Regions from separate parts of the Homo sapiens genome. Here all the other regions are linked to region 1. The links are contacts of gene promoters, found by promoter capture Hi-C in blood cells and fetal thymus (Javierre and others, 2016). All regions are on one chromosome and are shown on one strand. The core of a region is centred on a gene start or on the middle of the fragment in contact, and the rest is flanking DNA. Distances in the headings are between cores, read along the strand shown.

The links. The method cuts DNA at HindIII sites, captures the fragments that hold promoters and counts their contacts. A CHiCAGO score of 5 or more calls a contact.
Region 2: a contact is called between a fragment that was not itself captured here and the fragment with the promoter of RPF1 in region 1, in 15 of 17 cell types (megakaryocytes, fetal thymus, M1 macrophages and 12 more). The highest score is 11.3, in megakaryocytes.
Region 3: a fragment that was not itself captured here is called in contact with the fragment with the promoter of RPF1 in region 1 in 7 of 17 cell types (naive B cells, fetal thymus, M2 macrophages and 4 more); the score reaches 7.8 in naive B cells.
Region 4: a fragment that was not itself captured here is called in contact with the fragment with the promoter of RPF1 in region 1 in 2 of 17 cell types (megakaryocytes and M2 macrophages); the score reaches 5.4 in megakaryocytes.
Region 5: a fragment that was not itself captured here is called in contact with the fragment with the promoter of RPF1 in region 1 in 13 of 17 cell types (naive CD8 T cells, erythroblasts, M1 macrophages and 10 more); the score reaches 9.3 in naive CD8 T cells.
Region 6: a contact is called between a fragment that was not itself captured here and the fragment with the promoter of RPF1 in region 1, in 2 of 17 cell types (total CD8 T cells and naive B cells). The highest score is 5.5, in total CD8 T cells.
Region 7: a contact is called between a fragment that was not itself captured here and the fragment with the promoter of RPF1 in region 1, in 12 of 17 cell types (M2 macrophages, megakaryocytes, endothelial precursors and 9 more). The highest score is 8.3, in M2 macrophages.

What each region holds. Positions count from the first base shown.
Region 1 is chr1:84,477,571-84,481,198 of GRCh38, reverse strand. It overlaps RPF1 (ribosome production factor 1 homolog), which reads right to left and starts at 1,933. Exons shown (of 9, transcript NM_025065.7): 1 at 1,690-1,933; 2 at 187-243. The coding sequence starts at 1,917. RefSeq lists enhancers at 1,357-1,516, 1,712-2,272. The HindIII fragment of the contact is 6,088 bases long and covers 1-3,628 here.
Region 2 is chr1:84,127,115-84,130,742 of GRCh38, reverse strand. It overlaps a transcript of PRKACB not described here. Among named protein-coding and RNA genes, the nearest start is that of PRKACB, 15 kb to the left of the region's middle. The HindIII fragment of the contact is 3,373 bases long and covers 70-3,442 here.
Region 3 is chr1:84,164,525-84,168,152 of GRCh38, reverse strand. All of the region lies in intron 1 of PRKACB (protein kinase cAMP-activated catalytic subunit beta), which reads right to left. Among named protein-coding and RNA genes, the nearest start is that of PRKACB, 22 kb to the right of the region's middle. RefSeq lists a silencer at 1,098-1,147. The HindIII fragment of the contact is 3,536 bases long and covers 51-3,586 here.
Region 4 is chr1:84,783,268-84,786,895 of GRCh38, reverse strand. All of the region lies in intron 2 of LOC102724892 (a long non-coding RNA gene), which reads left to right. Among named protein-coding and RNA genes, the nearest start is that of SSX2IP, 95 kb to the right of the region's middle. The HindIII fragment of the contact is 1,353 bases long and covers 1,343-2,695 here.
Region 5 is chr1:84,184,819-84,188,446 of GRCh38, reverse strand. PRKACB (protein kinase cAMP-activated catalytic subunit beta) reads right to left here. Exons shown (of 10, transcript NM_182948.4): 5 at 3,265-3,347. Among named protein-coding and RNA genes, the nearest start is that of PRKACB, 42 kb to the right of the region's middle. The HindIII fragment of the contact is 1,202 bases long and covers 1,467-2,668 here.
Region 6 is chr1:84,201,643-84,205,270 of GRCh38, reverse strand. It overlaps PRKACB (protein kinase cAMP-activated catalytic subunit beta), which reads right to left. Exons shown (of 10, transcript NM_182948.4): 8 at 2,466-2,588. Among named protein-coding and RNA genes, the nearest start is that of PRKACB, 59 kb to the right of the region's middle. The HindIII fragment of the contact is 1,077 bases long and covers 1,339-2,415 here.
Region 7 is chr1:84,750,128-84,753,755 of GRCh38, reverse strand. No RefSeq gene overlaps it. Among named protein-coding and RNA genes, the nearest start is that of SSX2IP, 61 kb to the right of the region's middle. RefSeq lists a silencer at 62-111. The HindIII fragment of the contact is 2,207 bases long and covers 766-2,972 here.

The sequences.
Region 1 (3,628 bases), core at 684-3,183:
TCTTTGCTAATGCATTATTTCTTAAGCTGGGTAAATGATACAAAGAGGTTTATTATATTACTTTTGTATTTCTTCATACATCTGAAATACGTAATAATAAATTTTAAAAGAAAGTAATTCAACTTAAATATCAGGAGGGATTCCCTAATATAAGATAGAAAGCAAACAGCTAAAAATTTTATTTACCTTATCGCCAAGAGCCTCTCTTTCTTTTTTAAGTTTTTTCTTAGCTGCCAACTTTTCCTAAAGGGTTAAAAAAAAAGAGAACAATACTGAGAAACAACCAGTTATATCACAAACACATACTGAAACTACAAATTACTAATGCTATGAATACTCGAACTGGGCGGTCTTTGTAATCTATTGAAATAAGCATCTGGACGTGGAGTTTTCTACCTAAATTACTGTAAGCCAAATGAGCTGGCCAATCAATAAGATTTCTTTAACAAAGACCTGCTCCTTTAAAAAAATCTAAACTGGCAAGTTTGAACATTTAAAATTTGAGTAGCTTAACCTTTTTCCATAAAGCCTCAAATTAATTAAAGTATGTGATGGTTTCCACTGTGTTTTGTTTTGCCTAACTGGTGGCATCCTAAAGACGACCATGGTTATGCTGCTTGCTTCTCTTGAAAAGCACTAAAAATAGGAATGGGAGCTGAGTTTTCAGGTTGTTTTCCATAAAACCATCACCAGTTATTCACATATTTTATAATCAAAATATACTTCTAAAATTTAGTAAGAGCTTGCAAGGTGGCTTAAGATTATCTGTATTTGTATTGTCAATCTATATATTCTTCTGGAGATTTCTAGATAGAATGCTTGACAAAATAAAAAATATTCTTTTTTCCCCAGCACCTACTGATCCTCAATCCACCAGGTTTCAGATTAGAAATCATAGCTCCAATAAGTCTTCCAGGACATCCCTCCCCAATACGTGCATACCAGAATGAGTTAAACGCCCCTTGTATGTATTGAAACAGCACCTTGACACTGAACATGAGTAAGAACCAGTCCCGGGCCTCAGAAGGGCCAGTAAGAGGAGGCAGACACATAATAATAATATTGTGTGAACTTCTACGATGTGCAAGAATAAGCAAACGTTTTCTTCCAATTGCAATTTAACCAGAAATGAGCACTGCGACCTTGACAAGTCGTTTAAACCTCTTTACGTTTCAGTTTGTTTACCTACCAGAAACGTATAAGGATAAAGCTGAAAAGAACAAATACAATTACCAGAAACTTTACAGTACTAATTTCGGTAAGGAGCTCCTGCAGGAATCAGAGAAGCAGTATTTTGGATTTATTACGTATTGCCTCCATTTCAGATTCTGCAAATTAACCAACGCTACCTAGACGGACCAAAGGGCTGAGACTTTTGCCTTCTGGGCCAGGAGGGCGTAGTTTTCACTACTAAGCCAACTGGCCTTACAGCTTTCCTTGTGAATCTAGCGTCCCAGGAAAGAGCCTATCAAGATAATCTTCCACCTTGACGCTCAGGCAAAAGGCTGAACCTAGAGTCTCCAAACTAGGGCGAGGGGACCAGAACACGTGGGCCGCGACGCCACCCTTCCCACGGAGCCACAGAGAACACTTTTGAGACCAGCAGACAACCACAGATGTGCGCCCCGCGACCGCCCTAAGCGTCAGGAACAACGCGCAAGCGCCCGGCAGCCCCCGCCTCTCGCGTACCTTCCGCTGCTGCTGTTTCCACCGCGTGAACATTAAGTGTCGCCGCTGTTTGTTTTTAATCTCCGAAATGCTAAAGCCTGGCGGAAAGGCAGCCGCTTTCGGGGGTTGGACCCCGTTTTCCGTCGCCCCATCCCCAGCGCCTGCAGCCTCCTGAAGTTCTTCGGCAGCGGCTTTCCGTTTTAGACTTTTCTTCCCGCTGCTGCTGCTCTTATCCCCGGCTTTCGCCATGGTCTTGGCTCCTTTGCTTCCGTACGGAAACGGAAATAGCCTTCTCCTGTGACCCCCTTCCTTAACCTTTTACTTCCGGGGTCGCAAAGTTTTTGACGCTAGATGTGTTTTGTGAGTTTTAGCCATTCAAGAAAATAGTAAAGCTGAGGCTTGAGGAAACTTTAGGCAGTTTGCCCAGCTGTATAAAGAGTGAGATGATGAGTTTGGGCACTCCTTGCGCATCTATGTGCCCAGCCCTCAAAATAATGGAACAACAACAAAAACCGTGCCTGGATTAGTTTACGTTTTACTTGAGGGAAACCTAAAATGAGCATACAAATAAATTATGGTGAGCTACAGAGTAAGACATGGTATGGAAAAAAAATAGAACAGGATAAAAGAAGATGAAGAGACATTCATCTTTTTGAGACGGAGCCTTGCTTTAATGCCCAGGCTGGAGTGCAGTGGCACGATCTCCGATCACTGCAAACTCCTCCTCCTGAGTAGCTGGGACTACAAACACGTGCCACCATGCCCGGCTAATTTTTGTATTTTTGCAGAGATGGAGTTTCACCATGTTGGCCAGGCTGGTCTTGTACTCTTGATTTCAGGTGATCTGTCCGCCCTGGACTCCCAAAGTACGTTGCAATTTTAAATAGGATTCTCAGAGTAGGCTTCATTGAAAACGTTACATTGAGCCAAGGTTTGAAGGAGGTAATGGGCTAAACTAGTTATCTGAGGGAAGAGCTGTTAATCTGAGAAAAGCTGGTTATCAAGGAGAAAAGCTGTCCTGGCAAAGCAAACAGCCAGCTCCAATGCTCCTAGTCAGTAGCAAGCCAGGAAAGGCAAGAAGTGTTGAGATTGGACAGGTGGTGTAGAGTTTTGTAAGGACTTTGGCTTTTATTTTATGTGAGATGAAGATCTCTTATAGAATTTTGAGGAAAAGAATGGTATGATCTTAACATCTTAAAAGTATCAGGCTGGTGCAGTGGCCCATGCCTGTAATTTTAGCACTTTGGGAGGCCAAGGCAGGAGGATTGCTTGAGCCTGGGAGTTCAAGACCAGCTTTGGCAACACTGTGAGACCCCATGTCTACAAAAAGTAAAAAAATATATATATCTGTTTGGGCATGGTGTACATCTGTGGTCCCAGCTACTCAGGAGGCTGAGGCAGTAGGATCCATTGAGCCTGGAAGGCTAGGTTGCAATGAGCCATGTTGGTGCCACTGCATTCCAGCCTGGGTGAGAGGGTGAGACCCTCTCAAAAAAATAAATAAAAATAAAGTAAAAGCGTCATTCAGAATCTTCTTTTGAGAAGAGCCTATGCAGGGGCAGGGTGTGTGGAAGAAGGGAAGAAATGATAGTGGCCTGAACCAGGGTAAGTCTTGTGTAGGTGGTTGAGAAGTGATTCCTCTGGAAGGTAAAGTTACTGATGGAACTGAAGGGAGGACATGAAAGAGTCAAGGATGACTCCAAGACTTTCGACCTGAGTGATTCAAAGGATGGAGTTACCATCAGGTGAAATGCGGGAAAGTTCAGATGGAACAAATCTGAGAGGTAAGATCAAGATTTCAGTTTTGGAAATGTTAAGTTTGAGATACTTTTTAGTGATCTGATTGGTGGTGTCAACTAGTCAGTTGGGATGTATGATTCTGCAGCAGGACAGAGAGGTGTGGGCTAAAGATCAAACTTTGGAAGTAATTGGCACATAGGTAGTATTTCAAACCATTAGA
Region 2 (3,628 bases), core at 507-3,006, 350 kb after region 1:
AATTATCTCTTTGGTTTCCAGTAATTTGGTTATATCTTTGGATGTTGTTTTCTTGGCATTCACTAAGCTTCTTCAATCTGTAAATTTATGTCAGTTGCGAAATTTGAGAAGTTTTCAGCCATTACATATTCAATTTTTTTAGAAATTTCTGCAGCAATCTCTTTCCTCTTCTACTGTGATTTCAAAGACCTGTAGGGTTAGACATTTTTATATTGTTTTACAGATTCTTAAGGCTCTTTTCCCTTTATTAAACAAATGTTTTCCTGTTGTTTACAATAGACAATTTCTCCTGATCTTCTGTTCTAATTCACTGACTCTTTTCTGGGTTGTCTCCATTCTTTCTCATAATTTGAGGTACTTGTTTGGTCATTGTTGCTACTGCCACTGACACAGGAGTGCAGTTTTAGGAGTATATCTTGTCTCAAAGCAGGACCAGAAAACAAACAAACAAATGGAATTTCATTGATTTTTTTCCTTGTCACCAGGGATTTCCTTACAGGGTCTCTCATTAGAGAAAGAGAGTTTCTCTTTTTTTTTTTTTTTTTTTTTTTTTGAGACGGAGTCTCGCTCTGTTGCCTAGGCTGGAGTGCAATGGCACGATCTTGGCTCACTGCAAGCTCCGCCTCCCAGGTTCATGCCATCAGCCTCCCCAGCAGCTGGGACTACAGGTGCCCGCCACCACACCCAGCTAATTGTTTGTATTTTTAGTAGAGATGGGGTTTCACCCTGTTAGCCAGGATGGTCTCCATCTCCTGACCTCGTGATCTGCCTGCCTGGGCCTCCCAAAGTGCTGGGATTACAGGCGTGAGCCACAGCATTTTCTGTCTGAATCCACTGTACAGTTCTGGAATTCTGACTGCCTTGAGTCTAAGCTGGAGGATGTAGGAAGAAATTGCTAAAAGCAGGAAATTCACTACTGTATTTGTCTCTTTTCAAGTTTTGATTTCCCTTTCCAATCTTCCTGCTATATTTACTTTTCAAAGTCTTTCTACAGCTACTTTATGTATTCTGTTCAGAATCTTTTTTAGGCATAATCAGTGGGAGGAATAGAGTGATGTGCATTTACTTACTCCATCTTAATTGGAACTAGAAGCTAATCTCATCACTTCTGATTTTAATAATTTAATAATAGATTTAGAAATAAAAAATGTAAAAGATAAAAGTTTTACTTTCAACATGCTTCACCTTAATCTCAGTGTGAAATTGACATACATTTTTCTGAGTAAATCCACAGTAAAGTTGTAGTACTTTTGTCACAGTACTTTATGAGACAAAAAGTTACATGCATACATTTCTTTAAAAAATGTAATTTTTATACAAAATTTCATGATTACTACTATCAAGTATGGTGTCATTATTAATATGAAATTGATTCACTCTTGGCAAACTGATATATTTTCAAATACATAAACAAATTTTCACAATTACACTCCATGTTTTTTATCCTTGAACTCACCAGAATACCTAAAATTATAATAGTAATATATATCTCAAAGTATAGTAAACTAAAAAAGTTTATAATTGTGCTGAATATTAAGCAGTAAGTTAATACAATATGCAAAAACAATGATCTTACTATTCAACATAAAAAGAGATATGGAAATTTATTTAATCTCACAATTCTAATGTAAGAATATTCAATTGCTCAAAACATATGCTGTACATTGAAAGGTAAGTATTCTCTAATTTTTCTTCCAGGAATTCAAATTGCTTTTATTCATATGTTTGAGTCTAGGGTACACTGTCCAATATTATAGTCACTAGTGACACATGGTTACGTAAATTAAAATTAAATAAAATTAAAAATTTAGTTCCTCAGTCACATGAGCCATGATTTCAAGTGCTCAACAGCCACATGTAGCTAAATGGCTACATGTGTAGACAGTGCCAACATCAAACATTTCCATAATCACAGAAAATTACATGGGCAAAACTGGGCAATAGGAACACACATAATGCTGACAGATATGCCACTTTTTAAACTAATCAGTTACCTCTATAATCTTTGGTTTCCTCTTCTGCTGAACGAGATCATTAATAACTTCCCTGACTATATCACTAGTTTTGTGTATGGCTCAACTAAGAGAATATACATAAAATTTCTTTGTAAACTGTATTACATTAATACATCTGATTAATAAATATATGACTATTATTTATTTAAATTAAAGAAAATCAAAGTACACTTCAATATCATATTTTTTCAAATCGTTTTTTAAAAGTCTAAACACTGGAAGCATGCAAACAACCAAACTGTTCAAACAAGATTTTTAAAAACTATTCTGTTATAACATATGAGCATGAAAATCGTGGGTATGCCATAACAATCAATTTCTGCAATTTGGACAGAATGCTATAGACCCAAATGAACAATTCCAGTGAAATCAAGACAATATTGTTCTTCAACATGAAAGCTGTCAGTTCTATGTGTCCTATACTGTCTAAAAATCTTGTATGCTAAAACATCTTTTTTTTTTAATTTTGCTTTTTTGCAGCTAAGGTACATACATTAAAGAAATAATTCTAACCAACATGGTGGAACCCAGTCTCCACTAAAAAGACAAAAATTAGCTGGGCGTGGTGGTGGGCGCCTGTAATTCCAGCTACTCAGGAAGCTGAGGCAGGAGAATTGCTTGGACCTGGGAGGTGAAGGTTGCAGTGAGCCGAGATCACACCATTGCACTCCAGCCTGGGTGACAAGAGTGAAACTCTGTCTCAAAAAAAAAAAAAAAAAAGAAAAAAAAAGAAAAGAAATAATTCTAACAAAGAATAGACTGGAATCTGAGGAATCCTGAGCAAAGCCTCTTTATTTTTTACACAATGTAAAATTTGGCAAATTGGCTTACTTTAAACAAAAAATTCCCACTAAGTACATATTTATCCTTAAAATAATTTTATGATTTAAGTATAGGAAATATTATATTTTCTTCAAAACATAAAATATATTCACTAGAAGTAAAATAAAGTAGTAATCAAGTTAGGAAAACAGTAAATATAGTCAATTGAATGTGTTAGCAAAATAACATTTCAAAAGTCAGAGTCCAACAGAAAATAAGAACTAAATTTATTGTCTATAGCTATCAAATATAAGAAAAAGAAAAAAAACCCGCAAAATTCATATTTATCTCACACAGTAAAAATAGCTCAGTAATGTGCCAGGAATAATTAGACTTTTATGGCAGATGATTAATTGTTTTGAACTCATGCTGTTTACCTAATTAAACTATTAGTAATACCAGCAGGTAAATTAACTTCATACTTCTTTTCTGGAAAGATAGATTTTTAATACTGATACAGTTGAATATCCCTCCTGCAGAGCTGAATACACAAGCATTTTTGTTTTCAATTTTTTTTCTTTCCAACAAAGAAATGCTTTAGCTCAATGTCGTATAGGTAATTTTAAGGAGCAGGGGAAAATTAGGATGCTTATTAATGATAAGCTTAAATTACATACAGCTATTTTAAGATTTTATTTGATAGATTACTATTTTGTAATTGTTCAACTTAGCAGATAATTCTACTCTTTGGTCTTCCTCCCTATTTATCTTCATCTCATGTACAAATGTACATTTTCTATAATGTGTTTCAGGTAACATACACAGCTGTCAAGACCTGAAGTACAAAGAAA
Region 3 (3,628 bases), core at 569-3,068, 310 kb after region 1:
ATGACATCCTCTGCATCCCAATAATACCTGTATCTTCTTCTGCTTAAGCTTATTTGAGTGAGTTGCTACAACCTCTAAACATAAGGGCCTTACAATAGTTTGACTGATTTTCAGAGAAGTTCCTTTAGTATTTCTTTATAGACCTTGTTTGCTTAACAAGGGCAAAAACTTCACAAAAAGAGTTATGAGTAAGAAAAACATTTAGAAAGTGAAGGCTCTTTTCACATATAACCAATTTTTTAAATACTAGAAAGATAAAGGTACTGACTGGTACAATTTAGTTTCTTAAGCATTTTATATGACTTCATCCTACAAAGTTGATAAAGGAACAAGTAAATACTATGGTTATTGTATTTTTCTGAACCAAAAAAAGTCAAAACCCACACTGGTATTTTTCACTGGCAATGTAAGGGAACTGTTCAAGTATGTAAAAATGAATTATATTTAGTTTATCATTAATTCTATAAGTATTTATTGGGTACCTTGCTGTGTTTGGGGTACTGGGGTGACTACTAGAAACATACAATGAATAAGGCACTGTCCTTGACTTGAGTTCAACATTTAGAGATTAGAAAGTGACATACAAATTTATAATTTCAATATAATACAATAATTGTTGTAGTTTGTAAGTTTGCTTTGGGAGTACAGAGAAATCACCTAATTCCACAGGGTCAGTGTCGGAGGTAATGACTGGTTCTCTAAATTTTTATGATAAAGACTATAAATATGGAAAGGTAGCAAGGAATTATATGTAATATAGTATGGCTAGATCAAAATTTGTGAGAGAGATTTTGCAAACAAAACCAAAAAGGTAAGTCATTGATTGCATGTGACCTAATAAGGAGTTTAACTTTTATTTTAAAGGCAATAGGGAGTAACTGAAAGTTTTCATGTTAGTTTAAAAAATGGGCATATTTGCATTTTAAAATTTTCAGTGTGGAAAATGGCCTGGAAGGATATAAAACTGGAAGCTGGGAGACCAGTAATGCAGTTATTATAATAGGATTGAGAAGAGATCTAGAAGCCATCCCAGTGTCAGTAAGACTGGAGAATATTGAGTGATTTTTGATGTAGAATCAATAGAACTTAATGACTGAGTACATGTCTGAGGGTAAGAAACAAGTTAGAAATGACCAAGGTTTCTGTTTTCACTTCCTGTATGGGCAGTGAGATCATTAACAGATATCAGAGTCAATGAAAATGGAGCAGATTTAGGGATGATAAAAGAAAATCCACTTTTGAACTGAACGTTCAGGTAATGACTGAAGATGTAGGCATGGATGAGATTTTTTGGAGAAAATGTAGCATCAAAAGAAGGCCAAAAGATAGATTCTCAGAGAAAACCAACATTTAATTGGCAAAGGATAAAAGGAATAGTCTTATAACGAGAAAAGTACCATGTACACATAAATATCACATGTGTAGTTACAGACTTAGATTAAAAGGCCTAGCATTTGCTTATTTTTACAAATAAAACCACACTTCTCTTGTAATTTTCCAAGTTGAAATGGCTAGGACACTTAACCATTTATGACATGATTAAAATCAGTTGAAATTGGGCATTCTCGACAAAGTCAGAACACCTAGTTGTGATTACTATGATTATTTGTGGTATAAAATGGCTAGAAGGGAAAGCCAATATGATCAAATATATCAAATGCTATCTACAATGCATAGCTTTTTAAAGAAAAATAAAGCAATAGTGAAGCAATAACATTTTCCTTCAGCTAAATCCAATCCATCCTGTTGTAAAACCTCCAGAACACCATGGTGGTTACCTAAAGATTCTAGATTATATGCCAAATTTTCAAAGAGAAAATATGCATTGGCCTGATTCAAATAAATATATGTATGACAACCAGGTATATTCAGTTTGATATCCATAGAAATCCTAAGGAATGTTAAGTTGTTTTTGTAATATTCGTTCAAATTTAAAACAGCAGATTATTTAAAACAGATCTATTTCAGTAACAGGAAAATAACAATCCAGTTAATTCTTAGTATTTTGCATGTTAAAATGTCCCTTTAATATCTAATATTATTCTATAAACAAATATATAACAGTGTTTAAGAGGTTTATATTGTACTGTAGCAGGATAAAGAATATTTATTGGTTATAATGAGGTGATCTCCAGTTATGAAAGAAAAGGTTCGTCAATTTTGAATTCTATCATTATACAGCAAAAATCCACCTTTCAGTTTCTAAATTCCAATTCCAAATCTTATAAATGCAAATTATAGGACTGTTATGTTATCAGAGAAACCATATTCTACTTCTCTTAAAAATATCTGAATCAAAGGTTAACTTCCAAGCATCTTATTTAAGCAAAAGATGCTAATGAATTATGCTCTAAGCAAATGTTTTTCACTCTAACAACAGGATATCTATTTTTAGCTGCAGGTTTGGCTTGAAGTGACAGCTTTTACCCTATGATAAACTGCAGTACATACTGTAGTATATTTTTTCAAAAAAACAGTTTTGGAAATATTTAGAAAAAATAAATCACATTATAACAAAAAAGACTAGTTGTCACAAGTGTACTTATTCTAAAAAATTATTTCCCCCAAAAACTGTTTATTAAAAATTTTAACAAACCCTACAAAACCAAAATGCTCTAATTATTTCATCATTAAATCCTTATTTCTCAATAAATTGTAGGTAAAAGCAACCAAGACATCAACAAAATTCTGGCAGCATCTTATTTTCAAAATTACTATTTAAAAAATCTAATAAAAATAATCTAATAAAAATTAGCATTAGGAATGACAAAGCTAATCAAAGGAAAGTTAAACTAATTATCTTCAGGATCAGATACTAAAAGAAAATCCTCTCTTATGGTTAGTCTACTTACTAATTTATAACACAATTAATAACAGTGCCCAACAAATACAATAAATCGAACCATAAAGAAAATTAGAAACTGATTATTGGTATTGATTATTAATAGTGCCATTAATTGTTTACAGTTCTTACTGGTTTTTGAAGGCAATTTACTATAATGCCTAAGTACAAAAGCGTCACCACAAAATATAATTCACAGTAGCTGTGGCTTTATAACTGTCCCTTTAAAAATATTTTTTCCTCTTATAAATATATTTTTTAAATAAACAGCTGCAGAGTCTCAGAGAGCATACTTACCACTCATGATGAAAACCAACCTTTCCAAAACATATTGCTCAAAATAACAATCCAACAGCAAAGGGAGTTATGCTAATCTCTAGAGGGAGAAGAACCGATGGTGTAAACACACACACTGGAGCATGCAGCACACAGAAAACGAAAAGAGCTTTCTTTTGTTTTAAAAAGAGAAGCCCCTAGAAGCAAAGCATAACTGCCTAGCATGAGATATCACTAGTAAACATCAGATTAATGCCAAAGATGTCTATAACTAGACTGAATTTCTTTCAAGCTAGTTATCCCAGCCTCCTTCATATACCACTAGAACAACTCAAAATGGCAGGGAGAAAATGTTCGAACCAGGATGTATAAGATGTTCTCAATTATATCAGCATGAGTTGTTACCACGGCAACATTAGACCAGAATTATCGGTTCACTTGTATCCAAGGCGTAGCTTTTCTAAAGCTTTAATCCACCAGACAAATAAAATACCTTTTTATTTTAGAGCC
Region 4 (3,628 bases), core at 770-3,269, 310 kb before region 1:
ACCTCTATCCAGTAACAACACACTTTCATCACCCCAAAAGAAAACACTCTATTCATTAAGCAGTAATTCCCCTCTCCTCCCAGCCCCTGGCAACCACCAATCTGCTTTCTGTCTCTATGGATTTTTATGTGATGTGTTTTAAATTTCTAATTGTATGAAGATTTTTAATTATAATTTTCACTTTTTTCTAACTTAATTGTGTTGTGGTCTTTTGATACTTATTCTTTGAATTTGTTGAGATTTGATATTTGCTTTCTGCCCTAATTCACAATTAGTTTTTACAAAGGTAATATGTGATTTTAAAAAGAATGTATATTCCCCAGTGGTTGAATGCAGTGCTCTATATAAGTCTTTTATATCAAACTTGTTAATCGTCTTGTTCAAATCTTTATAACTTTACTGAATTTTTTGGCTGTTTGATCTATCAGTTACTAAGAAAGACATGTTAAAGCTCCCACTCTGATCACAAATTTGTCAATTACTCCTTGAAGTACTGTCAGTTTTTGCTTAGTGATAGACTTTTCAGATAACATGGAGAGGCGCTAATCAAAACAGAAACTTCAGATGTGCTAAACGTGCAAAAAGACCATCAGCTGTGTCAGTTTCTTTCTGCCGTATTAGCCTAGTTTGGTCAAAGTCTTCCCAGAATAAGGAAGCCCTGGCTCTTGCACTCTCTCCCCTTCTCTTTTCCTTCTTCCCGTTCCAGAAACGCACATGAGTGAAATCAAAGGAATGGTCTCAGAAGATGCTGAATAAAAATACTCTAGATCCTTGGAATTTCCTTATTTTATTTCAGCAGTGGAACTGAAAATATCTTTAAGTTATTGTTTCACTAATTACCATAGAACTTCATAATTTCCCATTTTCCACAAGGGTCACTGTGCACCAAGGATGGTGCTGGACTGAGCATAGGCTGAGTACTGTTGGCATCTCATGTCTGCTATACTGCCTCTTCATCAGGCAGTGAATGATGAATTGAGACTCAGTCCACTTGCGGGGAAAGGCCCCTATCATCCCACAGCTGAATTCACTCTGTTTACTGCTACTTTAGCTAGAACAAGAAAGAGAAGCATATGTGGTGAGTTATTGAACTTAGTTCAGCATCTTTATTCCTCATTATCTTCTACATCTAATTCAATTGCTAATTGAAATAATTACTGTCTTTACCTGGTAGAAAATTATATTGTGCTTGTAAGACAAGCTGACTGATGTGCTTTGAAAAAGCAGCAAAACATCTTTCACCGTGCTTGGATTCATTTCCCTTAGCAGATGATTTCAGTAACTTCACATCATTTTTCATCTGGCAAGTCAACAGAAGCCAAGTTTTGAGATAAATAAAGCTTGTTTCTTTGAGTGGAACAATGCCATGGAAGGTGAAACAACTTCATTTTCCATGCAGACACGCAGGCCCGTCTTGTACTTGCAGAGAGAGGTGCCTGGATTTGCTCAAATCAACTTGTGGTGCTCATATTAATTGGTTGTTTGAAATGGGCTGTCCAGCTGGCAGCTTTCAGGGCCACTGGAATGGCCCTGGGGTTGCTGATTCATTTCTCTCCCCAAGACTGAATGGCCTATTATTTGACCAGGAGGAAGAAGCCAAAGTAGTCTGCCCCAACTTGTTGCAAGTGATACCCAAGAAGGGGGCCAGCTCTCCAGGGCCTCTCCTGACCTTTGGAGGAGTCATACGCACCTTAGCACAAGAAATGCCTGGGGAACCGGTGCTGCATCTGGGACCCTGGAGCCTGCAGGTCAGAGAAGTTCATGAGGTTTCCTCAGCCAGTGTATAGTGGCAAGCAGAGATACAGTGATTAGCTGGGGTGTGCGAACCAGTCAGACAGTATAGTCTACAGACCTTTGGGCTCATTACCCACCTCAAGAACCTATGTCTGCCCATTTTCCTGATGTGGCAGCAAAGACAAGGACTGTGGGGCAGATTATCACTTGCCGAGTATTGTGGTGATTAACACTTTAATACTTATAGAGCCCTTCTAACATTGAGTCAATCTAGATCTATTTATTGAATATCTATGACATACTAGAAATAGTGCTAGATTCTTTGAAGGATATAAAAATACAAATCTAACAAGATCCCTGCCTTCAAAGTCCTAACAGTATAATTAGGGGCCAAGATATAAACACAAAACATGAAGGAACAATACCAAAGTAATTAACGTTAAAAACTGCCAAATTCATTTCTCACAATAGATAAATTTCTCTCTATCCTCAGAGGTATAAATGACCTGAACGTTTGGCAGAACTATCCTGTTAATCATAATGAACATAGACAATATTATTGAGAGCTTACTATAGGTAGGGCATTTTTAAGCACTTTACTCATTATTTTATTCAATCTTCAGAAAAATCGTTAAAACGTAGCAGAAATCTCAGAGAGTGAGGCATGATCCAGGTTTAAAACTAGACATTACAATAGACAGCCCTCTTTTGAATGTCAGCCTTGGCCTACCTTGTGCCCAAGCCTGAAGTTGATTCTTTCCTATGCTGTGACACGTTGCTTATTGCATTTCAGAAGTTGATCCAGGATGTCATATTATGATACTGGTCCGTAAGTGTACAAATAGGACTGGGTACTTGGATGTGCAGAGGTGTGTTCATGATGGTAAGAGTGCATTGTAGCAGTTAAGGACAGGAGGTGGGAATAAACTCTTGTTTGTAGGAAAGGTTTGTGGAGAAAGCTTTTCAATAGAATTCAAAAGGTCTGTTTACAGATTAGGAACTAAGGTAGAGACTGAACATTTCACCCTATAAACTGTCGACCGAGTATCTCAAGATTAGCTATCTAGTTAGCCCATTTGTTGGCTGAAGGAGCACCACGATTATAATATGGCTGGAGAGTAGCTGCTTGCAATACCAGTCACATGAGACTGTGATCTTAGAGGGCAACTCTTCAAAGTTCTCAGGAGGCTTCCTTAGGGTAGTGGAATAATGAGCAAAGAAGATGTAAATCTGACTATGTCACTCTTTTGCTTCAAACTCTTGTAGGGTAAGGTCTTATAAGATAAGGGCCTGGCACTCAAGGCCCTCCTCAGGTTCGGGCTTCAGACCCTCTTCAGCGCCATCAACCCCCACAGGCCAGCGTTCACGCACCAGTAGCACTGACTGCTGGCTACCTGCTCCATCTATCAGCTCAGTGCGTGTGCTGACCACCTACTGTGTGCCAAGTACCGTGCTCACCTTGGAGGCACATTGCCACGCTGTCCTATGCCCACCACTCTCCAGTCCCGGGGAACCTGCCACATGTCTGCCAAGGCCAACCTCAGGCTCCCTTCCTTTCCAGGAAGCCTAGGTTGAGTTCCAGCCCCCTCTGTACTCCCATTTGTTGGAATAATGCCTCTGGGTTTGACTTACTCCCTAATCTGTTCCTTAAGAATGGAAACACGTCTTATTCATTTTGGATCCCCTCACCTGGCATAGGGCTTGGCACATGGTGTTCAATAGACGTTTGTTGAACTGAACTGAAGAGGAAAGTTCGGTTGGGGTCATAGGAGAGGGTCATGTATGCAAGGTCCCCTGGGAGAGGTGGGGGCGGGGTAAGATGGGGCAGGATAAGTGTTAAGTGGCTTATTTGTTCCCTGGTCTCCCCAGGGAGAGACATAGATTACTTGGCTTC
Region 5 (3,628 bases), core at 818-3,317, 290 kb after region 1:
TTCTCAAAATTATTTACAATCAGATTCATAGAAAAGACCCCAACAAGTACCCTTAAATACAGGTTTTTAATAACTTTAAGATCAATAGACTAAATAAAAATTTCCAGAACCCTAATAAAAAAAGATGAGTATATGAAAATACTAATTAAGATCAAGCAGAACAAAAATTACATGAAATTAAATAATTGATAAAAATAATGTTTTCATAACTTTCATTTAAAACATTGTTACATTGTTAGTTCTTAAATATTTTGGTTTCCAGATTTAAAAAAACTTATCTCTTTAGCTATTTATAATTTATAGCAATTTGGTAAAGTATATTTTTGTAAAAAAAGATAAAAGCATTTGCTTTTTTTCTCCTTAATTCAAAAATTAGTTGTAAGTACTTTTATGGGAATATGACTATTTGCACAGGTCCAGTAAAAATCTGCTCTCTCTTTATAGCAGAATATGAAAACACTGATTATATTACTAAGGCTCTAACTGAACTATCGTATTTAAAAAGTGCATAAAATGCCTGACTTCAAGGGTTTCTCAGCATTACAATGAGTAAATAAAAACTGTTACTTCCTGGCAGGACCAGGAACCTCAAGACTGTAAGGAAAATCTAAGACTGCCTTGGTTCGGCTTCCTTGCCTCAAGAGGTTTTTAAATCCAAGATTCCTATGTAATCAATGTAGAGAAAAAAGTTTTTTCTAAAGAATAACTATAATATACCTGTTATTAGACTGTAAGTCTGTACATTATTTTTGAGTCTTGTTATCTACCTATAGACTAGACAAGGTCCTAAATTCTTCTAGGTTCCTCCAATCGAACTTTCTTCCATAAAATTACTAAAATGAGAACCGCTCTGTTCCTGAAGTCCTGTTAGCTGAAACTATATAAATTTTAAGAAACAAGTCTCATGCCTGATGTATGGGCCACACAGAAAGTTCATCAAACTGCCCAAAGCCATAGCCAGAGACATTTACACTGTAAACAAAGCCAAGAAAGTTGATGTTTTCCATGGTGTGAACAGCTTTTCTCAAAACACTAGAACAAGACTCCATATTGTAATGAAACTCTTACCCCTCTTAATGCCTGCTTTTTCACTTAACCAAATAATATTGTAATTTAAAATTCACAATCAGTAACTGCTATAGGTACTGGTGAGACCTGCTAAAGCCATTGACAAAGCCTGACTTAAGAAATTCTTTCAGTTCATCTAGTCACAACATCGACAATATCCTTAACACAATTTTTTGTTTAATTTGTGCTGGTGGTCCCTCTTGCAAAGTTTGGCATTCTCTGCTTTAGTTCAACCCAGTCATAAAATGTTAGTCAATGGCTATAGCAGGTCTCACCAGTTTCCCCTGGTCCTTTGATTTCTTTAGTTTTTTGCCCTTAGGCCTGGGCTTTAGTTCAAAAGCACTGCACAAATACATTTTACTATATTGTTAATTTTTTTGTACTATCATTTGTAAGCTTTGTTCTTAGTGCCTATCTAATCTTTGTAAAGGCAGCTGTCCCAACAGAATAACGTTAGCCCAACACTTAAAGATGACTGCTAATACCTATGGAAGTGATAAGTGGGAACTCGATGCTGGCTGGACTCCAGACAAAAATCTACTTTGAGAAAAATTTTCCTTCTGGCCTCCTCGTTACTTGAATGTGGCCCAGGTCCCTACATAGACACCCCCCAACAGATAACTTCTCTCATATGTGGGACAGAGACAACCAGAACAAGTCCATCCGAGCACCAAGGAATAATTAAGCCTAACTTCAAGATGGTTGACAAGCAATGCTTTCAGAGAAAGATCTTGATCAAAAGGGAAAAATGTGAAAGCTGATTATACAAATTAGTCATTCTCATCATACCTAACTAAATCAGAGTCGAGGGGCCAGGGAATAACGCACTCAGGGCACACAGCACCTGCTCCAAGAATTAAGGCCAGGTGTGGTAGCTCACACCTGTAATCCCAGCACTTTGGGAGGCCAAGGAGGGTGGATCACTTGAGATCAGGAGTTCGAGACCAGCCTGGCCAACACGGTGAAAACCTGTGTCTACCAAAAATAGAAAAATTAGCCGGATGTGGTGGCGGACACCTCTAGTCCCAGCTACTCGGGTGGCTGAGGCAAGAGAATCACTGGAACCCAGGAGGCAGAGGTTGCAGTAAGTCGAAATGGTGCCGCTGTACTCCAGCCTGGGCAACAGAGGGAGACTCAGTCTCAAAAAAAAAACCAAAAACAAACAAAAAAATTATATTTTCCACAAGTCTAGTTGCTGAAACTGCCTATTGTAACCTGAAACCAGTTTTCTCTAACAGCTACTGAGACAACCTACTGCGACTCTTAGACGAGTCTGACCCACCACCATCACTCACCAATCAGAGCTTGCCAGCTCCCCAAAACTTAACTAGTGCTAGTAAACTTTGTTTCAAAACAAATAAACATAAAATTTCTTTTTATAAAACCTCCAACCTTTTCTTTGTTTTCTAGACACATTGAAGACCACCTAGTCTGTGTATATGCCTCAAACTGCAATTCTTGCTTCCTCAATAAAATGTTGAATTTAGAGATTTGTCTCTACATTTTTATTTTGACTTCAACACACTATACTGAATGAAGCTGTACCTGTTTTTTATTTTAGCTTTATTCTATTAGTGATTATTAATGAACGGTAGAAGCTTATAAACTATTAAGTACAGGTAAAACCATCAGATTCTATAACCTATTTTAATAACTCTGAGATCTTATTAGTCATAACCTGATGAGGTACAAACTCCCGTTAAATTATGTGTATATTTTAAAAACTAAACTTAGCAAGAACTTTAAGGAGAATTAAATTTGTGAAAAACAAACTTTTATAATCTTATTACCATAATACTATTATTATTATTTCTCTATATATTTATTTTCCATCTTCATCCTTAAAACAATCCTCTGTCCTGGAGTTGTATTATTAATCTTTGTTTAATAAATATTGATATTTTAAAATTCAATTAATTTTTCCATTTTCTGAAAACTCTTCAAGTAGTGGACCCTCACAATATCTAGCAGTAGTATAACATTTAAATTGGCTTCAAAGTCCTTTTTTTATATTAAATTTTTATATTCTTTATATTAAAACTTGTGTATGATGTGGCCTCTTTGTTTCCACCTAATGCTTCATATGGCCAAAATATTAATCAAACAAAATAAGTTTTTGGCATTGGCATCAACTTAAAAATCTGGTTAAACAACACAAGCATATAAAGATTTGAAGAAAGCAAAACCATTAGTTACCTGAACCTTCCAATTCTTCTTAGATGTGAAAACATTTCACCCCCAGGGACATATTCCATAACCATGTATAAATTAGAATTATCCTATGAACAAATAAAAAGGAAATACAATTATTCAACTTAGGTCAAAATTATTTTAATATTATATAATGCTGAATTAGAAAAATTTAAAATCTCTCTGACAGATTAATAACCTTGAGAAATAAAGAATAAATGGAACATGCTCTAGCTTTTCTATACAGAGACACTCATATTTTTCCCCTCCTAGTTATTTTTGCCACAAACTAGTCTGGGACTTTTGCTCTTCCTTTTCTTGCAGAGAACATCTAGTTCTCAAACAATTAAATACTCAGGCAATGAAGTAA
Region 6 (3,628 bases), core at 628-3,127, 280 kb after region 1:
GGGAAATGGTTAATACAATCTAACTTCACATAATACAGAGCCTTTTAATGGCAAAAATTCCACTTTCATGACTTCTACTTTAGATGAGTAAAGGGAGTAAGAGATGGGGATAATTTTATATCCCACATGGGGAGAGATAATCTGGTACTTTTAGTTAAAAAACAAAAGTACACCAAATATCCTGTCATATTTCTAAATAAATGAAGGGGAAAACAGAATATTGTGATATAATAAGGTTTTCTGGTGTCATTCTTCTAAGGTGCCCAGGATTTAGACTGTTATGATTTTAGAATATATGCTGATTATTAGATACAAAATTTTAAAGTTTGATATAAAATGAATATATATTCATAAACAGCTGAATATAAAATTTAACCAATAGAGAATGATTGGCAAATCGAGGCCAATGCATAAAAATGAAGACACATTAATTTTAACTAAAGCAGTTTTTCTTAATAAATGTAAATTTAGTTATGACAGTATCCTTGTTAGAAAATTGGATTTCTTATATGAATATAAATAAAAGTAATATAGTAAAGATTCAAGAACTTTATAATTACTGTCAATTAAATGATTTGAAACAATTATTATAACATTTACATTCTTAGTTTTTGTATTAGTAAAATATTCTTCTTCCATTTGTGATTTTAATGTATTTTGGTTCTCTCATCATTCTTCATATGACCTTTAGTCCTCTTGAGAGTCTACACTTCTCAAATTCTTCAAAAATAAATCACTGCCTTGTCTGTTAATTTTTCTCAAAGTTTTGTTTTGTTCATATCAAAAGTTCTGCTGGGAGAAAACAATTACAAAGATAAGAAGTCTGAAGCCAGAGATCTACAAATGTAAGAAGAACAGCAGTGATACTGATACTTGTTTAAATAAGTACTGCATTCTGCTTTTCTGTATTGCCTTTATCAGTGCACAGCATTCAACACCTAGCTAGGTTTATTTATCTGTAAGAGGTATTTATTTTTTTACCTTTGACATAGTTGGAGTATAAATTCTTTAGTCAGTCTCCTAATTTGTGAATACTGATAATAAATAAAACTTTCTACATAAAACGTGGCAAAATACAAGGGAAAATCTCATGACCCAGGTAGAGTGCATATGTACTATGAGATAGGGAACAATACTGTGCTGAAATGTATGTTCTAGGTGATTGGATAGACTAATTCTATTGGCAAATGTCTTGTTGCTACAGCCCAGCTGTGCAGCATCTATGATTTAAATTTGAGTGTTGGCAAAAAAAATAAATTACCACATTAGAGACATTCAGGGTACCTTGTGAATAGTTAACAATGGAAATTGTAAGTTGATAGATGCCAAGGGTAAGCTTTCACACTAAATGTAGAGCTTGAATATGGCTGAGATACAAAGAAATAAAGACCTTCCCTCTACTATCTCCTTCCGGCTTATCTCTGCCTAAGAAGGTCACAAAATACAAAGCAAACAAATAAAAAATAAAACAAAAAAACCTCAACTCTATAACATCTCAGGCTAATGTGATAAAGATTGATGCTCTATTTCCTGATCATATTCTAAATGGGACTATGTGGGAAAGAAAAGAAAAGACAAAGCAGTACCACATGTAGAAATAGAAAGAAGGGAAAATAAGCAAAATATCCCTTCCCATATATTTTGTCATTAATGTATAGAAGGTCTCCTTCTGGGAATGTTTAAAAGCCTATTCTTTCATTGCTGCATGGTAGGAAATTCAAGCTCATTTCTATTGAATTGACAATGGTCTTTTAAAAAAAGATCCGAGGTCTGAGCTAAGGCAACAGCAAATGACTGACCCTAAACAAAACACTCTTGAAAGCAAATTAGAGGTTATAAGTGCAAAAGAAGGAAGGTTTATGAAGAAATTTACAAAATGTAAAATACTACAACACAGTAAGTCTACTCATGTTGAAGAAAAATTAATGTTATTTCCATGTTTGCTAAAAACCAATGACAAGTATAATCACAATCTATATGAACAATTCTGTTAAAATCAATTCTATAAATTTCCATCTGAAAAAGGCTTATTCATTTTATATTTACTTTTACTTCCAATGTTATAGTATTGGACATAATTAAAACAAGAAGTCTCTCCTGAAAATGGAAGGGCATATAAAACAGCCCCTAAAACTTTTCTCCATGAAGATAGACACATGAAATAATAAACTATTTTTATTTATTTGAAGGAATATCGAGAATTATGGCTATGATCCTGTTCTTTGTGATAAAAATACTAAATACAGAAATTGCTTTACTGTTTTGTTAATTTCTTTATAAAACTGCCCTTTTTTTCTTAAGAGACTGAAATGATTCAATTCTTATGATAGTAAGAGCAGCAACTGTAGATTTTTCTATATTTTTCCCAATGTAGAATAATAATTATGACACAATATAGTTTCAATTCATGAAGCTTAAAATTCATATACAGTAATAAGAGAGGAATAATAAAATGTTTTACTTACCTTTCCAGAAACAATCTTTTCATAAATCTGAATTGGTTGGTCTGCAAAGAATGGGGGATAGCCAGCTGCCATTTCATAGATTAGCACTCCTAATGCCCACCAATCCACTGCCTTATTGTAGCCCTGAGATAAACCAACACCAATGTCAATTGTTACTTAAGTTACTCAAAAGAGAATGAAGTCAAAGATAATTTCAAAATGATCTGGAAGCATATAAAAATTTTTTTAAAGCAATTGCTGAGCAGCTATTCAGGACAGAATTTAAAAATGAACCAAATGTATCAGGTCAGATTTAAATTAAACAAAGGAGAGGATTTCCAGATACTGAAATTGGATATTAGGAAAGAGTATTAAATCTTCTTCCTAAAATTATTAAGAATATTATAGACAATGAAATTTTCTTTATTTCACTGGTATAATTTAGTTCTTGCTCAATAACAGGAAGGCAGTTAGACCACATTACTTCTTAAGGCCCACTCTAGGTCCATAATCTTATGAAACAGATTTTCCACAGCATGCCTAGAAAGATCAAAAGTTTTCAAAGAAAATAATAGAAACTGGACTACATAGTAAATAATGAAGTTGACTTCAAAATACTCTATATTTTTGGAGTTAGGAGGGTGAATGTGCTAGGGATAATCCCATCTGCTTCATAGGATTTTGTGAAAGCAAAAAGTTTAATGTAAAATTCAATTCATGTAAATATTTAGGTATACTTTACTTCTGCTATCTACTGTCTTGCTTCCTATATCTAAAAGATATGCAGGAAAAAAATGAATTCACAGAGTTTTGTGAGGACTGTATCAAATGAAAGGGAGTAACGTGTGTAAAAAGTGCTTTGCAAACCAAATGTAAAAATCACAGGTTATGTTTGTTTTTTTCATATTAAGCTTACTAAAATTAAAATTTGTAAGTATTCATAAGAAAATAAATAAGAATAACATCTTCATATTAACATGCTAATATAGTTTATTAACTATGGTCAGTATCAACTGACACAAGAGATTTTTTAACAACCCCAAAAACCTGTCATGAAGAGAAATAAGCTGAATTCTACCCAGATCTATTGCTCTGCCCTCAGAGGTACCCTCTACCATCACGACTCACCACATTCCACCCTTTTGTCAAAATTTTAGCTTTACAAACTACTTAGTTTTCAAAAT
Region 7 (3,628 bases), core at 620-3,119, 270 kb before region 1:
GGGTAATGCGGACTGGCCACTTGGTGTCGCTGTTGTTCCGCTGCTGGGTTCTGCAGCGCTGTCCCCCGCTGGTGAGATGTCCTCCCTTTCAAGTAGATGCTTTCTGTGAGCCGCCCTAACATGCATTTATTCAAAATGTATTTATAGTGTCTGCCATGTGCCAGAAACCATGCGAGTCTCTGGGGATAGGCTGGTGAACAGTTTGTGGAGTTCACAGTCTAGCAAGAGAGACAACCAAACAAATGAAATAATTACACTTTGTGATTAGGTCTATGAAGGAAAAGATCAGACTCCTAGGATGGAGACTAAGGTGGGCAACAGCTTTTTTGCAAAGTCGTCAGAGAAGACCTGTCTGATGACTTATTAGGCTGAGACCTGAAGGATAAGAAGGGCCGTGGACCTGGAAGGGATAGGTGAAGAGTGTACGAAGAAGAGGGACAGCGAAGCCCACCAGGGCTGCTGCACAATGAGGGAAGAGGTTGTGGCCAGGGATGAGCAGGTAGGGACCGGATCATGCAGAAACCTTTAGGCCAGGGTCACGCTTCTGTTCAGATGTTATTCCTGGCCAAAGGAAATGTCTTGAAGATAATTCGATTATTATTATTTGTTTAAATAATTTCCTTTTCACACCGTATTGCAGTTCCCACTGTATCACCTGTTGCTTTAGACACGTGAACACTTAGAAAATGCATATTCAATATTATAACAATTTAATTTTTTAACACAGCTATTGTTTTCCTAATACAAACTATGGGATATAAAGCTTAACAAAATCTTTGCTGGTGGGGCAGAGTTTAAGAAATCTGAGAGGCCAGGCACGCTGGCTCACGCCTGTAATCCCAGCACTTTGGGAGGCCAAGACAGGTGGATCATGAGGTCAGGAGTTCAAGACCAGCTTGGCCAGCATGATGAAACCCCGTCTCTACTAACAATACAAAAATTAGCCAGGCGTGGTGGTAGGCGCCTGTAATTCCAGCTACTTGGGAGGCTGAGGGAGAGAGTCGCTTGAACCCAGGAGGTGGAGGTTGCAGTGAGCCGAGATCACACCACTGTACTCCAGCCTGGGCGACAGGGAGAGACTCCATCTAAAAAAAAAAAGAAAAAAAAAAGAAGTCTGAGAGAAGCAGTCAAAAAGCATATGGTGAGAGAGCACTGCACTGTGACATGAGTTGGGAGACGTGGGCCACTGCCCCCCTTATAGCGCTTCTCACATTGTGGTCATTACCCCCTCACTTCTCTTCTGCCTCACTAGACTTGGGATCTAGAGGCAGGCACTGCCCTACCCACCTTAGTAACCACCACGATTAGCACAGGAACACAGCAGGTTCTCAATAAGAGCTGGATGGGAGGATGGATGCATGGGAAAATGGGCAGGCTCAGGGTAAGAGGTGGCTCATGCCTGTAATCCCAGCACTTTGGGGGGCTGAGGTGGGAGGGTCACTTGAGGCCAGGAATTTGAGATCAGCCTGGGCAACATAGACTCTTCTCTAAAAAAGAAGGAGAAGGAGCAAGAAGGAGAAGGAGAAGGAGGGAGAAGGAGAAGAGTAAGAAGGTAAGATATGTGGGAATACCAATGCTGATAAGTGAGCCTCCTGCAGAATCCTAGTGACATCATCTCAAAGATAAATCATTCTCAAGTTCTGAGAACAGGTGGCACTTCTTATCCATGGGCTCCACATCCATGAATTTTGGGTCAAAAATATTCTTGAGAATAAAATAAAAAATAACCATACAACAATAAAAAATATACAAATAAAAAACCAATACAGTACATCCACTATTTATATAGCATTTACATTATATTTGGTATACAGTAATCTAGAGATGATTTAAAGTATATGGAAGGATATGTATAGGTTATATGCAAATATGACACCATTTTATTTTGTTTTTATATATTTAAGGGTTATAAATGCCATTTTGTTACATGAATATGTTGTATAGTGGTGAAGTCTGGGTTTTTAGCGACATTGTACCCATTAAGTAAATCCTCATCCTTCATGTCCTCCCACCCTCCCACCCCTCAGAGTCTTCAATATCTAATATTCCCCTCTCTGTATCCATGTGCACACATTATTTTACTAGACCGTTTTATATAAGGGACTTGAGCATCTGAGGATTTGGATGTCTGCAGGGTGGTGGTGGGGAGGAGGGCGGTTCCTGGGACCAATTCTCCATGGATACAGAGGGATAATGTTATAAGACAAAGCATTTCTCTGGCCTCTTTGTGTATGTCCTAAATGCTGATTGAGCACCTGATATGTGCAAGGCACATACTAGACACAGGGATACAAAATGAGTAGGACATCATCATAGTCCTGATGCTACATACAGTCAATAAAGGAAAAAAGCTGAAAGCATAGTTTAGAAAGTGTTAGGTACTCAAAGTGAGAAATAAATTATGTGCCCTAGGGGTTAAGAAAAAAGAGGACTTTCAACTGTAAGGGTCAAGGAAAGTAGACCCTTACAGGACCCATCAAGGAAAGGGATGATGACATTTGCATTTCCTCTCAAAGGATGGGAGATTTCCTTGTGGATGACAGAGCTCTATGAGCCTCCCCTCCAAGCTAAGAGAGGTGGCTTGTTCCTGAACACCACGCTAAAGGAGAAAGAATTCAAAGCCATCTCCCATCCCTTCTCCCCATTTTGTGAGCCCATGATACTGCCGCCATAGTGCATCCAGACAGCCTGGCATCCCAGATCACGAGCTGCAAGCCACACTTGATAAGCACATTCTGGGTATGGATTTGACTACAACATTCCCAAACCTTCCAAGCAGTCTTTGTGGCTTCCTGTTAGAGTCTTTAGTTTGGGGTCACTCTTCATTTTTCTACTGCAGTATTTTTCCAACTACAGATCACAGTCCATTAGTGGGTCAGGTAATCAATATAGTGAATGTGACCAGCATTTTAAAGAAATGGACTAGAATAGAATGGAAATAATTAAGGTGCATTGCATAATAAGGGAAAGCTTTTATAGGTCAAGCATTATGTGTGAATAGTGGCAGCCCTGCTGGGTGATCCTTCTCTGAGAGGCTTCAGGGGACAAACTTCCTTGCCAGAGTATTGGTGCCATACTCCCATGGCAATTCCAAGCTTTGATAGAATTGAAGAGAAAGCTCCTAATTTAAACTTGGATATCCTCTAAGGCCCATGAATATGTAAATGCATGCCATAATTCCATGGAATACATTTTTGTGCTAAACATAAACATTTTTGAAAGCAGATGTCTTTTTTGGAGTGGCACTAACACATTCTCAATTCTCCATCCCATTATGCGTGTGTGCACACGTCCTCCCATGGCTGGCCAAAGGAAGTTTATGTCAACTCTCTGAGTAATGTGCCTCATCGGGCAGGAAAATACAAGTCAAAGTGCCACGGAATGTTTCTGCCAGGGAGTCACCCAGAGCCTCACAAAGCTGTGGAGCCTTTTAAAGTCCCTCCAGGTCATTTTATTAGAGTTGTTTGCAAATATGTACTTCTGCCACTAACAGATTTTAGTCTGATTCAATAAACCACTGTTTTCTACTTCCCTAGTGTCTCATAGAAGCCTTTGCATTATTGATGGAATGTGAGGCATGCCGCACATTTTCACTTCCAAAGGTAGATTGTGAAACCGTGGAAGCATG